Linked DNA regions of Homo sapiens: all the other regions are linked to region 1. Evidence: promoter capture Hi-C in human tissues and cell types (Jung and others, 2019). All regions are on one chromosome and are shown on one strand. The core of a region is centred on a gene start or on the middle of the fragment in contact, and the rest is flanking DNA. Distances in the headings are between cores, read along the strand shown. Region 1 holds the start of THPO (thrombopoietin). Region 2 overlaps LINC01839 (long intergenic non-protein coding RNA 1839). Region 3 has its middle 31 kb from the start of LINC01839.

Region 1 (4,221 bases), core at 1,058-3,557:
CCCCGAGCCCGACTCCCCGCCCGCGCCTCCCCCGGGCGCCCACCTACCTGCCGCTCCCCGAACGGGCAGCGGCTCCTTCTCAGAACGGATGGGCAGCACGGGGGGCTCTGGGCCGGCGCCGCGGGCCGGCCGGGAGCCGAGCAGCAGCAGCCCGAGGAGCAGCAGCGGGGCCGGCGGGGCCGGGAGGCTCGGCATGACGCGAACGGGACAGCTGGGGAGGAGGGAGGGAGGAGGGCGCGGGAGCGGGCGGAGGGAGGGAGGCGGGAGTGCGGAGGGCGGAGGGCCGGGCCGGGGGCGGTGCGGCGGGAGGGGGCCGGGGCCGGGGCCGGGGCCGGGGCAGTGCCGCGAGGGGCTCGTCGGGCGGCCGCAGAGTCGGCGCCGGGCCGGGCGGGGCGGGAGGAGCGGCCGGGAGGAGCGCGGGCGGGCGGGCGCTGACCCGGGCCGTACGCGGCTCTACTGCCCCGGGCGCCGGCTCCGGCCCGTTTTATGCCCCGCGCCCGACGCCCCGGCCGGGGGCCTCCTCCTCAGCAAACGGGGCGGCGGCGGCAGCTCGGCGAGGGGCCGGGCTGAGCCCGGGGGGTCCGACCCAGCAGCAGCGGCCCGGATCGCGGGTGGGGGAGGGGAGGGAGGGGCTGGGACCGGGCAGGGGAGGAGGGAGGGGCGGGAGGGGAAGGGGGAGCGGGGGAGGGGGAGGGGAGGGACCAGGGGGCGCGAAGAGGGGGAGGAGAGGCGGGCCCGGAGCCCCCCGCTGCTGGCGGCCACAGGGCGGCTGGACCAGGAGGTCGGTGTCCAGCCCAGGAAGGGAGCCTCAGGCTAGGGAGGGGCAGAGGCTAGGCCTGAGGCCTGGACCGCTCTGTGAGCGAGGACCCGGTTCCGCCCGAAGGATGAAGACTTGTCTTTAAAGATGACAACGTACAGGAAAGGTCCATCAGCCGATCTCCCCCTGCCTGGGCCCACAGCGCCCCCCAAACCCTCACCACCCTCTCTCACTGCCTAGCCTGCCTCCCTACCTTCTCTCTGAGGTCGCTCCTCATTCTTGTGTTACCCAGGACAGGGACCTAGCCAGAAACCGGCAGCATTCCCCCTTCTGTGGAGTGACAGTATCTCCCTCTCATTGTAACTTATCCTCAGGCGCATTCGACAGTCCCCTCTTGCTTTCTCACCCCCTTCCTTCACCCAAGGGACCCTCTGCCTCTCCAGCCCACTCCCAGCCTCCTTTCTCTTGGTTCCCTGGTCATGCCTGCCTCCCTGTCTCCTGTCTCTCCCTCCCACACACACCCACTATCCTCCCAGCTATCCCAGCACCCTCCTTCCTAATCTTGGGAGACATCTCGTCTGGCTGGACGGGAAAATTCCAGGATCTAGGCCACACTTCTCAGCAGACATGCCCATCCTTGGGGAGGAGGAACAGGAGAGAGCCTGAGGAAGTTCTGGGGGACAGGGGGATGATGGGATCAAGGTCAGGCCAGGAAGCCCCTGAGGACAGAGACTGTGGGGAGACTGGGACTGGGAAGAAAGCAAAGGAGCTAGAGCCAGGGCCAAAGGAAAAGGGGGGCCAGCAGGGAGGTATTTGCGGGGGAGGTCCAGCAGCTGTCTTTCCTAAGACAGGGACACATGGGCCTGGTTATTCCTCTTGTCACATGTGGAACGGTAGGAGATGGAAGACGGAGACAGAACAAGCAAAGGAGGGCCCTGGGCACAGAGGTCTGTGTGTGTAGCCATCTAAGCCACTGGACCCCAGCAGACGAGCACCTAAGCTCAGGCTTAACCCAGTGCACGTGTGCGCACATACATGTGCCCCGCACCTGACAGTCCACTCAACCCGTCCAAACCCTTTCCCCATAACACCAACCCATAACAGGAGATTTCTCTCATGTGGGCAATATCCGTGTTCCCACTTCGAAAGGGGGAATGACAAGATAGGACTCCCTAGGGGATTACAGAAAGAAAAGCAGGAAAGCAAGCATCCTGTTGGATTTCAGCAGCAGGTATGATGTCCAGGGAAAAGAAATTTGGATAGCCAGGGAGTGAAAACCCCACCAATCTTAAACAAGACCTCTGTGCTTCTTCCCCAGCAACACAAATGTCCTGCCAGATTCCTCCTGGAAAAAAACTTCTGCTCCTGTCCCCCTCCAGGTCCCAGGTTGCCCATGTCCAGGAAAAGATGGATCCCCCTATCCAAATCTTCTCCGTGGTGTGTGTGGGTGGAGGAGTGGACCCTGGTCCAGGCAGGGGCTCCAGGGAAGAGAAGGCGTCACTTCCGGGGGCCTTCACCAGTGTCTGGTGGCTCCCTTCTCTGATTGGGCAGAAGTGGCCCAGGCAGGCGTATGACCTGCTGCTGTGGAGGGGCTGTGCCCCACCGCCACATGTCTTCCTACCCATCTGCTCCCCAGAGGGCTGCCTGCTGTGCACTTGGGTCCTGGAGCCCTTCTCCACCCGGTGAGTGGCCAGCAGGGTGTGGGGTTATGTGAGGGTAGAAAGGACAGCAAAGAGAAATGGGCTCCCAGCTGGGGGAGGGGCAGGCAAACTGGAACCTACAGGCACTGACCTTTGTCGAGAAGAGTGTAGCCTTCCCAGAATGGGAGGAGCAGGGCAGAGCAGGGGTAGGGGGTGGGGTGCTGGTTTCTGAGGGACTGATCACTTACTTGGTGGAATACAGCACAGCCCTGGCTGGCCCTAAGGAAAGGGGACATGAGCCCAGGGAGAAAATAAGAGAGGGAGCTGCACTTAGGGCTTAGCAAACACAGTAGTAAGATGGACACAGCCCCAATCCCCATTCTTAGCTGGTCATTCCTCGTTAGCTTAAGGTTCTGAATCTGGTGCTGGGGAAGCTGGGCCAGGCAAGCCAGGGCGCAAGGAGAGGGTAATGGGAGGAGGGCCCACTCATGTTGACAGACCTACAGGAAATCCCAATATTGAATCAGGTGCAAGCCTCTTTGCACAACTTGTGAAAGGAGGAGGAAGCCATGTGGGGGGTCCTGTGAAGGAACCGGAAGGGGTTCTGCCAAGGGGGCAGGGAGGCAGGTGTGAGCTATGAGACAGATATGTTAGTGGGCGCCTAAGACAAGGTAAGCCCCTAAGGTGGGCATCACCCAGCAGGTGCCCGTTCCTGGGCAGCTGGTCTCAGGAAGGAAGTCCCAGAACTGTTAGCCCATCTCTTGGCCTCAGATAATGGAGTATTTCAGGACTTGGAGTCCAGAGAAAAGCTCCAGTGGCTTTATGTGTGGGGGTAGATAGGGAAAGAATAGAGGTTAATTTCTCCCATACCGCCTTTTAATCCTGACCTCTAGTGGTCCCAGTTACAGCTTTGTGCAGTTCCCCTCCCCAGCCCCACTCCCCACCGCAGAAGTTACCCCTCAACATATTGCGCCCGTTTGCCAGTTCCTCACCCAGGCCCTGCATCCCATTTTCCACTCTCTTCTCCAGGCTGAAGCCACAATACTTTCCTTCTCTATCCCCATCCCAGATTTTCTCTGACCTAACAACCAAGGTTGCTCAGAATTTAAGGCTAATTAAGATATGTGTGTATACATATCATGTCCTGCTGCTCTCAGCAGGGGTAGGTGGCACCAAATCCATGTCCGATTCACTGAGGAGTCCTGACAAAAAGGAGACACCATATGCTTTCTTGCTTTCTTTCTTTCTTTCTTTCTTTCTTTTTTTTTTTTGAGACGGAGTTTCACTCTTATTGCCCAGGCTGGAGTGCAATGGTGCGATCTCGGCTCACCACAACCTCCGCCTCCCAGGTACAAGCGATTCTCCTGTCTCAGCCTCCCAAGTAGCTTGGATTACAGGCATGAACCACCACACCCTGCTAGTTTTTTTGTATTTCGTAGAGCCGGGGTTTCACCATGTTAGTGAGGCTGGTGGCGAACTCCTGACCTCAGGTGATCCACCCGCCTTGGACTCCCAAAGTGCTGGGATTACAGGCATGAGCCACTGCACCCGGCACACCATATGCTTTCATCACAAGAAAATGTGAGAGAATTCAGGGCTTTGGCAGTTCCAGGCTGGTCAGCATCTCAAGCCCTCCCCAGCATCTGTTCACCCTGCCAGGCAGTCTCTTCCTAGAAACTTGGTTAAATGTTCACTCTTCTTGCTACTTTCAGGATAGATTCTTCACCCTTGGCCCGCCTTTGCCCCACCCTACTCTGCCCAGAAGTGCAAGAGCCTAAGCCGCCTCCATGGCCCCAGGAAGGATTCAGGGGAGAGGCCCCAAAC
Region 2 (4,221 bases), core at 589-3,088, 110 kb before region 1:
CTCAGCATTGTACAATATACCCTGGTAACAGACCTGCACATGTACCCACTGAATCGAAAATAAAAGTTGAAAAGTAATGAATAAAAATGAAATAAAATAACGTAATTGGGACTTGCTCAGTTGGATATATGGATAATTGTATATAATATGCTTCAATATTTTTACCTTTGTGCCTTTTTTTGATAGTACAAGCCTCCTGAAAGACATTTTTTTAAATCAACATTGAAAGAATGCAACTGTACATTTTACGTGATGAAGTTTTGGACCCTGTTTATTTCATTGTGGTCTAGGGTTATTTTATTTCATCAGGTGGTGGAGAATAAAGGCTAAGTTGGAAGAAGAAACTGTAAAATAAGAGACTACAAGAGGTCTCAGAGAGGTTAAGCCTTCAAAGGCAGATCATTGCAACACTGAAAATCTTGAAAAACAACAAGGAATTCAAAATAAATAAAATAACATACAATTTTCACAAAATGTTTGTCTTCTCAACGTGCTAAACATCTGGTGCTAATTTTTTTAATGGCCTACAAACCCATGTTGCCAAGAAATTCTAGTTGAGGCTCAATCTGTGGCACGTACAATATAATGACAATGGGAAAGGGAATTACTTTTTTCTGTGAAATACATTCCAAGGGTTTTGGATGCTGTCAGTGCCTTTGTATACATTGCCAGTAATTTTGAAAATAAATTTTCACTGTGGCTTTTTTCATTTCTTAACCTTATCCATGTGAACAGGAGAGCTTCCTCGTTCCACTGGGAGATCTTATCCACTAGTAACGAAAATGTGCTCCACTGGTCTCATTACACAGCTGATATTCACCAGTTTCACCATCTCATTGATTTTTCTTACAACAGTATCATCAGAATTCAGTGAAGAAAAAAATTTCAGTTGGATTTTTTCCTATCATTCTAATAACCTATAAACCACTGGTAATTTGAGTTTTTTCTATAATATTATACTGCTTACCATATTCTGCAATCATTTATATTATGCTGAAAGAATTAGCAACAACTTTACCTTCTACTCAGAGATTTTTCTTTAACATTCCGTGGCTATTCTAGTTTCAAACTTCTTTAAATCTCAGAAGTATGATATGCTGCCAACTTTATAAATGTATTTCTTTATACAATCTTTATTTTCTGTCTTCTTGTGGTCACTGTTTATTTTAAAAGAAGTGTAGAGTAGGCATATTGACAACTCTCCACATGTGGGAAGATATAAAAACCAAGTTTTTAACATTCAGCTGAATAATACTCACCCTTTTCCTCCATATTTGACATTTTGCCATAGAGGCTAAATCAGTATATTCCTGTGTAGAGGTAGTAGCCATGAAGAGGACAGTTACAATGGACACTAATTAGATGATGCCAATAATATAAGCAGGATCGCCATCCGTGACTTTTCAAAATGGTGAACTCTTGACAAATTTTCAAATAAAGCACTGCGCCGTATTTCCTTGATGTATGCATTTGATGCTTCCTAGGAAATTTAGTACTTACTAAACCTTGACAAAAAAAACCCACTTTGTATTCACTTATAAAATGGAATTCGTTCTAGGCTCAAATAATTAGAAGCAGGTTTTTCACCTATATAATTCTAGGTTCAGTTAGATTTTAAATTGGATTGTCATAAATAGGTTTGTTGTATTTATTTATTTATTTATTTATTTATTATTTTTTGAGACAGAGTCTTGCTCTGTCACCCAGGCTAGAGTGCAGTGGCAAGATCTCAGTCACTGCAACCTCCACCCCCCAGGTTCAAGCGATTCTCCTGCCTCAGCCTCCCGAGTAGCTAGGGCTATAGGCACACACCACCATTCTCAACTAATTTTTGTATGTTTAGTAGAGACGGGGTTTTGCCTAGGCTGGTCTCAAACTCCTGACCTCCAGTGATCTACCCACCTCAGCCTCTCAAAGTGCTGAAATTACCAGCGTGAGCCACCATGTCCGGTCAGGTTTGTTGTATTAAAAGTCCTGAGGAACCAGGAGCGGTGGCTCACACCTATAATCCCAGCACTTTGGAAAGCAGAGGCGGGCAGATCTCTTGAGGTCTGGAGTTTGAGGCCAGACTGACCAACAGGGCGAAACCCCGTCTCTACTAAAAATATGAAAATTAGCAGGGCATCGTGGCGCCTACCTGTAATCTCAGCTACTCAGAAGGCTGAGGTGAGAGAATCACTTGAACCCGGGAGGCGGAGTTTGCAGTGAGCTGAGATCGCGCCATTGCACTCCAGCCTGGGTGACAGAGCGAGATTCCGTCTCAAAATAAATAAATAAATAAAATATAAATAAAAGTCCTGAGGGACACACGAGAAATCTTTGTTGTACTAGTCTGACCCAACTAAATGCCAGCAGTAACCCCTGTTCATGATGACAAAAGAAAAAGCCATGCAAATCTCCAAAATACCTCTGGGAGCAGTACCATCCTGCAGAGAACCATTAATTTTTATAAAGATGCAATCACACTCTGTAGTTTACAATCTGAGTTATACCTGATTTACATAAAAATACAGTCACATAGAAGTGATCAGAGTTGTTTTAAGGCCTTTATGAGGCTCAGACCCTTTTACTTCTGGAAGCCCTACCCCAATTATATCAAGCATATTAAAATGCACCTTCATCCTAATAAATATAATAATAGCCAGGCTTGTTATGTGCCAGACACCATTTTAAGTACTTTACAATAACTATTTGAAGTACGCACTATTATTATTCCCATTTTACAGATAAGGAAAAAGGCACAGAGAGGTTCAGTGACTTGCCCAGAACCACACAGTGGTGGAGCCAAAATATAAAGCTTAGAACTCTGACACCAACATACTACAGCCTATATAACTCTTGTAGAGTTTACATCTAAGGATAAAGTATCATTTATGAGTTTGTCGCATTGGAGATGACTTCGCCTTCATCAATTTTAATTGTAGAGTTTTTATTTTGTATTTTGAGTCAATCATTTAATTTGAGGTGTGAAACATTATCTTAAGGCCCTTGAAAGGCCCGTGGCCCCCAGTACCATTACCTGTAAGAGCATTGCCTGAGATTCTCCACGCACATTCAATCCAGCACCTTCATGCCTCGGGGAGACCCACGGAGGCACTCACTTTATCTCTCTGTCTATTTTTTAATGTGTGCGTGTGTATGTGCGTGCGTGTGTGTGTGTGCGCGGACCAAAATGATGACGATGGCCAGCTTTTAGAGCACCGTGATTCATGCAAACATTATCTCTAATTTTAGCGCCCACTCTGTAAGATGTTGTTATCTTAATTTTTATGTGAGGTACCCGGTGTCAGATGACTGAGTGAATTTTCCAGTGTTTCATGCCTAGGGAAAGGGGGAGTTGAAAATCCAGTCCTGGTCTTTATGTCTCCAAAGCTTCTGCCCCCATCCTGCTATTAGTGGCTCCGTGTGGGCCCTTTGGGGCTTCTGTGTCTCTTGCATGACACTCCCTTCCCAGTGAAGGAACCTCAGCAGGTTTCCACTTGTCCTGCCATCCAGCTCCTATCCGGCAGGAGACGGCAGGTACTGGTTTTTCCCCTTCAGCTGCTGTTATCCTATTCCAGAGCCAGATTAAGATCTCAGACTTTCATTATAGCACAGACAACTTCGGGGAGCTGCTCTCGATGGGAACTCCAGAGGAAACAGGACGATTTTCTCAGTGCCTGGTCTTACCAGCTGCTATGGTAGTAACATCCCCTGCAAAACTCATGTTGAAACTTAATCCCCAATGTGGCAGCATCGAGAGGTGGGGCTCTTAAGAGGTGATTAGATCATGAGGACTCTGCCCTCATGGGTGGATTAATCTATTCATAGCTTAATGGGTTATCATGGGAGTGGGACTGGTGGCTTTATAAGAAGAGGAAGTGAGATCTGAGCTGGCATGCTCAGCCCCCTCACTATGAGATGCCCTGTGCCACCTTGGGACTCTATGGAGAGTCACCACCAGCAAGAAGGCCCTCACCAGATGTGGCCCTTCAGTCTTGAACTTAGCCTCCAGAACTGTAAGAAATAAATTTCTTTTCTTTATAAATTTCCTGTTTCAGGTGTTTTGCTATAACCAACAGGAAACAGATGAACACACGAGCTCTGCTTTTCCTGGGTGATTTTCCTTTTTGAATTATGCACTTAAAATGGATGCATCTTATTGATGTAATTGATATGTCTACAAAAAGCTACGACAAAATAAAAGTTAATTTAATAAGACAGTAAAAGGGATTCTAAGCT
Region 3 (4,221 bases), core at 961-3,460, 66 kb before region 1:
ACACCGAAGGTACACCCATTTCAAACCATGTGAGCTGTGAGTAGGCACAGGGTTGGGTCGCTGGGGTGGGAAAGGCTGCATGCGCTTGTGCCTAAGGATGTTTAACATGAGAGAGCTGGAATCCATAATAATGGTTCGCATCCACCCTTGTATGATCATCAGGATCTCAGCCTTCCTCATTTTACTCTGTCCATTTCATTTTTGCTTTTATTTTTTATGTTAATTGTAGGCAAATTAACACCTTGTTTAAAAAATAAACTGGTGGGCATGGTGCCTCACACCTGTAATCCCTGCACTTTGGGAAGCTAAGGTGGGAGGGTTGCTTGAGTCCAGGAGCTTGAGACCAGCCTGGACAACATAGTGAGACCCTGTCTCTACAAAAATAAAAAATATTAGCTGAGCATGGTGGCATGCACCTGTAGTTCTAGCTACTCGGGAGGCTGGGGCAGGAGGATTGCTTGAGACCAGGAGGTCAGGGCTGCGGTGAGCCACAATCATGCCACTGCACTGTAGCTTGGGTGGCAGAGAAAGACTGTCTCTTAAAAACAAAACAAGGCTGGGCACGGTGGCTCACGCCTGTAATCCCAGCACTTTGGGAGGCCAAGGCAGATGGATCACTTGAGGTCAGGAGTTCAAGATCAGCCTGGCTAACATGGCAAAACCTTGTCGCTACTAAAAATACAAAAATTAGCCGGGTGTGCTGGCGGACGCCAGTAATCCCAGCTACTCGGGAGGCTGAGGCAGGAGAATTGCTTAAACTCAGGAGGCGGAGGTTGCAGTGAGCCGAGATTGTGCCATTGCACTCCAGCCTGGGTGACAGATGAGACTCCGTCTCAAAATAAAATAAATAAAATAAAATAAAATAAAATAAAGTAAAACAATGGCCTGGCACGGTGACTCACGCCTGTAATCCCAGCACTTTGGGAGGCCAAGGTGGGCGGATCACGAGGTCAAGAGATCGAGACCATCCTGGCCAACATGGTGAAACCCCATCTCTACTAAAAATACAAAAAAAAAAAAAAAAAAATTAGCCGGGCGTGGTGGCGGGCACCTGTAGTCCCAGCTACTCGGGAGGCTGAGGCAGGAGAATTGCTTGAACCCGAGGGGAGGAGGTTGCAGTGAGCTGAGATTGTGCCACTGCACTACAGCCTGGTGACAGAGTGAGACTCCGTATCAAAAAAATAAAATAAAATAATAAAATTAAATTAAAATTAAAAATTAAAAACAAACAAAACTAACTTTGTCACTTCACCCCTGAGGGAAAATTGGGAGAGGGTGGCATATGGCTTTTCTACAGTCCAGCAGCAGATTCTAGGCAAGGGGAGGAGCCAAGGCCCTTAGCAGAGGCCTGAGCCTGAGCAGACAGGGCACCAGCAAGGAGTCGCCAGCAGCAGGGCTGCAGAGCACTCTCAAAAGCAGGACTGTCTAACGCTAAAATGGCTTGCCTTGGGTGACCAAAAAAATCCAACCTTATCAATAAAATCTTCACTGCATTTCAGCCTGGGCAACAGAGGAAGACCTTATCTCAAAAAATTAAAAAAATAAAGTCTGCTTCTAAACCAGCCGTGTTGCATGAGCGATTCTGGAAGAACACATAGAAAAGGCTCGTATCTGGGTTGGTGGGAGCAAAGGGAAAGAATCACCATGAAATGTGGGAGGTAAATGACCTCAGCAGTGCTGAAGATGCAGGAACTCATCAGACGGCTCCTGAGAACATCCACCCCAGAGTTCATGGATATTTTCAGAAAGCCTCTGGGCTTCTCCCAGAATGAGGAGAGAAAAGTGTCCATAAACGATGATGGTAGCTGATGTATAAAATGAAATAGAGCTACAGCAAACTACGTAGAAATATGCATCCCTTGGTGCAATTGGGAGGCAGGCCACCTCTTCCACTGGCTTGAACCTGCTTGTGTGAGATGGAAAAGCACAACGTTTAGAAGTCTGGAGAAGGAAAGAGAAGGGAGGAGATGCTGGCCATCGATGTAGGGAAAGTATCACAAAGTAAAATTCCCACTAGTGAAGCTGCTACAATTCCATGAAAGAGTCTGTGGTCAGAAATGCTGTTATCAAACAAACAAAAATAAATAAATGAACGAAGTGCTGTTATCAGAGATCAGAAAGCTTCATAATGCGTAGAGAGGTTTTCCAGCTGGGCGCGGTGGCTCATGCCTGTAATCCCAGCACTTTAGGAGGCCGAGGGGGGCGGATCACAAGATCAAGAGATCAAGACCAGCCTGGCCAACATGGTGAAACCCCGTCTCCACTAAAAATACAAAAATTGGTTGGGCGCGGTGGCTCATGCCTGTAATCCCAGCACTTTGGGAGGCTGAGGCGGGTGGATCATGAGGTCAGGAGATCAAGACCATCCTGGCTAACATAGTGAAACCCCATCTCTACTAAAAATACAAAAAATTAGCCGGGCGTGGTGGTGGGCACCTGTGGTCCCAGCTACTAGGAAGGCTGAGGCAGGAGAATGGCGTGAACCTGGGAGGCGGAGGTTGCAGTGAGCCTAGATTGCGCCACTGCACTCCAGCCTGGGTGACAGAGCAAGACTCCATCTCAAAAAAAAAAAAAAAAAAAAATTAGCTCGGCGTGGTGGCATGCACCTATAGTTCCAGCTACTTGGGAGGCTGAGACAGGAGAATCACTTGAACCCAGGAGGCAGAGGTTGCAGTGAGCTGAGATCTCGCCACTGCACTCCAGCCTGGCAACAGAGTGAGACTCTGTCTCAGAAAAAAAAAAAAAAAAAAAAAAAAGAGAGAGATGTTTTCCAGGATGGTAGACAAGGTGATCTGTAATTTGAAGATAGCTCTGAATATCACCTAAATAAGTAATGTTCCTGAGCAGGAAAAACAGGCCCTTCAAGCTGGGTAGCAAGCAGGTAAGAGAAGGGGAATGTGGAAAGGAACGGGGAGCAGGCAGAGGCCTGGTGTACCCATCCTGGAGAGGCAGGCTCCAGATGTTGGAGGGCAAAAGATGCCTCGTTCTCCTCTAGCAGCGTCGCAGCTGGATCCAGACCAGTTCCAGTTTGTCCTCCCAGAAGAGCAGGGGTCCATCTGGGGACAGGCCCAGCCCCTCTCCTTCTGACATGTCCCCCAGGTGGCTCTGGAGGTCTAAATCAGACAAGCTTTCAGGAACCCTATTGGCAAACACATCCCTGCACCTGCTGACCAAAGACCAAAAGGTGAACAGACAGGGCAAGAGGGAGAGACAGCACATGGGTTTCCCAGCCAGTCTTCTGGAAAGGCAGATTTACACAGGTCTATCCTGTTGACCATCGATGGCCCTGTGGGCAAAGAGTGGTGCATAGAGAGGAATCTTTTTTCCACACATCTATGCTTTCAACCAGCTCAGCAGGAATGTGCCCACACAGACATGTGACTCACACCAGCAGGTTTCTCATGTATTTTTGAGACTTAAAATAATGCTAACTTCAGACCAGGCGTGGTGGCTCGCGCTTTTAATCCCAGCACTTTGAGAGGCCGAGGTGGGTGGATCGTCTGACGTCCGGAGTTTGAGACCAGCCTGGCCAACATGGTGAAACTCCGTCTCTACTAAAAATACAAAAATTAGCTGGGCGTGGTGGCACAGGCCTGTAATCACAACTACCCAGGAAGCAAAGGCTTGAACCAGGAGGTGGAGGTTGCAGTGAGCCAAGATCGCGCCACTGCACTCCAGCCTGGGTGACAGAGTGAGACTGCATCTCAAAAAAAATAAATAAATAAAAATAAATGCTAACTTCAATAGAAAAGAACTTCATTCTCAAATGTTAGAATTGAGAGTTTGCTTCATTGTGCTATTTTCATGGAGGAAAAAAATAATATTTATTCATTTTTTTCTGATCATGAAAGCAATGAAAGTTTATTGGATAAACAGCTGGAAACTCAGAAATATAGTAACAATAACACTAAAGGACGGGCGCAGTGGCTCATGCCTGTAATCCCAGCTCTTTGGGAGGCCAAGGTGGATGGATCACTTGAGGCCAGGAGTTCGAGACCAGCCTGGCCAACATGATGAAGCACCGTCTCTACCAAAAATACAAAAATTAGCTGGGCGTGGTGGTGGGTGCCTGTGGTTCTAGTTACTTGGGAGGCTGAGGCACGAGAATTGCTTGAACGTGGGAGGTGGAAGTTGCAGTGAGCCAAGATCGTGTCACTGCACTCTAGCCTGGGCAACAGAGTGAGACCCTGTCTCAAAATAAATAAATAAGAAGAACACTGA

What was found. The method cuts DNA at HindIII sites, captures the fragments that hold promoters and counts their contacts. A contact is called where the count stands out against the background at its distance.
Region 2: a contact is called between a fragment that was not itself captured here and the fragment with the promoter of THPO in region 1, in 6 of the 25 tissues and cell types used here (H1 embryonic stem cells, IMR-90 fibroblasts, aorta and 3 more).
Region 3: a contact is called between a fragment that was not itself captured here and the fragment with the promoter of THPO in region 1, in 2 of the 25 tissues and cell types used here (mesendoderm cells and spleen).

What each region holds. Positions count from the first base shown.
Region 1 is chr3:184,376,293-184,380,513 of GRCh38, reverse strand. It overlaps THPO (thrombopoietin), which reads left to right and starts at 2,307. Exons shown (of 6, transcript NM_000460.4): 1 at 2,307-2,439; 2 at 4,110-4,221. It overlaps CHRD (chordin), which reads right to left and starts at 460. Exons shown (of 23, transcript NM_003741.4): 1 at 48-460. The coding sequence starts at 195. The HindIII fragment of the contact is 16,052 bases long and covers 1-4,221 here.
Region 2 is chr3:184,481,756-184,485,976 of GRCh38, reverse strand. All of the region lies in intron 1 of LINC01839 (long intergenic non-protein coding RNA 1839), which reads right to left. Among named protein-coding and RNA genes, the nearest start is that of LINC01839, 8.0 kb to the right of the region's middle. The HindIII fragment of the contact is 8,326 bases long and covers 1-4,221 here.
Region 3 is chr3:184,442,689-184,446,909 of GRCh38, reverse strand. No RefSeq gene overlaps it. Among named protein-coding and RNA genes, the nearest start is that of LINC01839, 31 kb to the left of the region's middle. The HindIII fragment of the contact is 3,261 bases long and covers 580-3,840 here.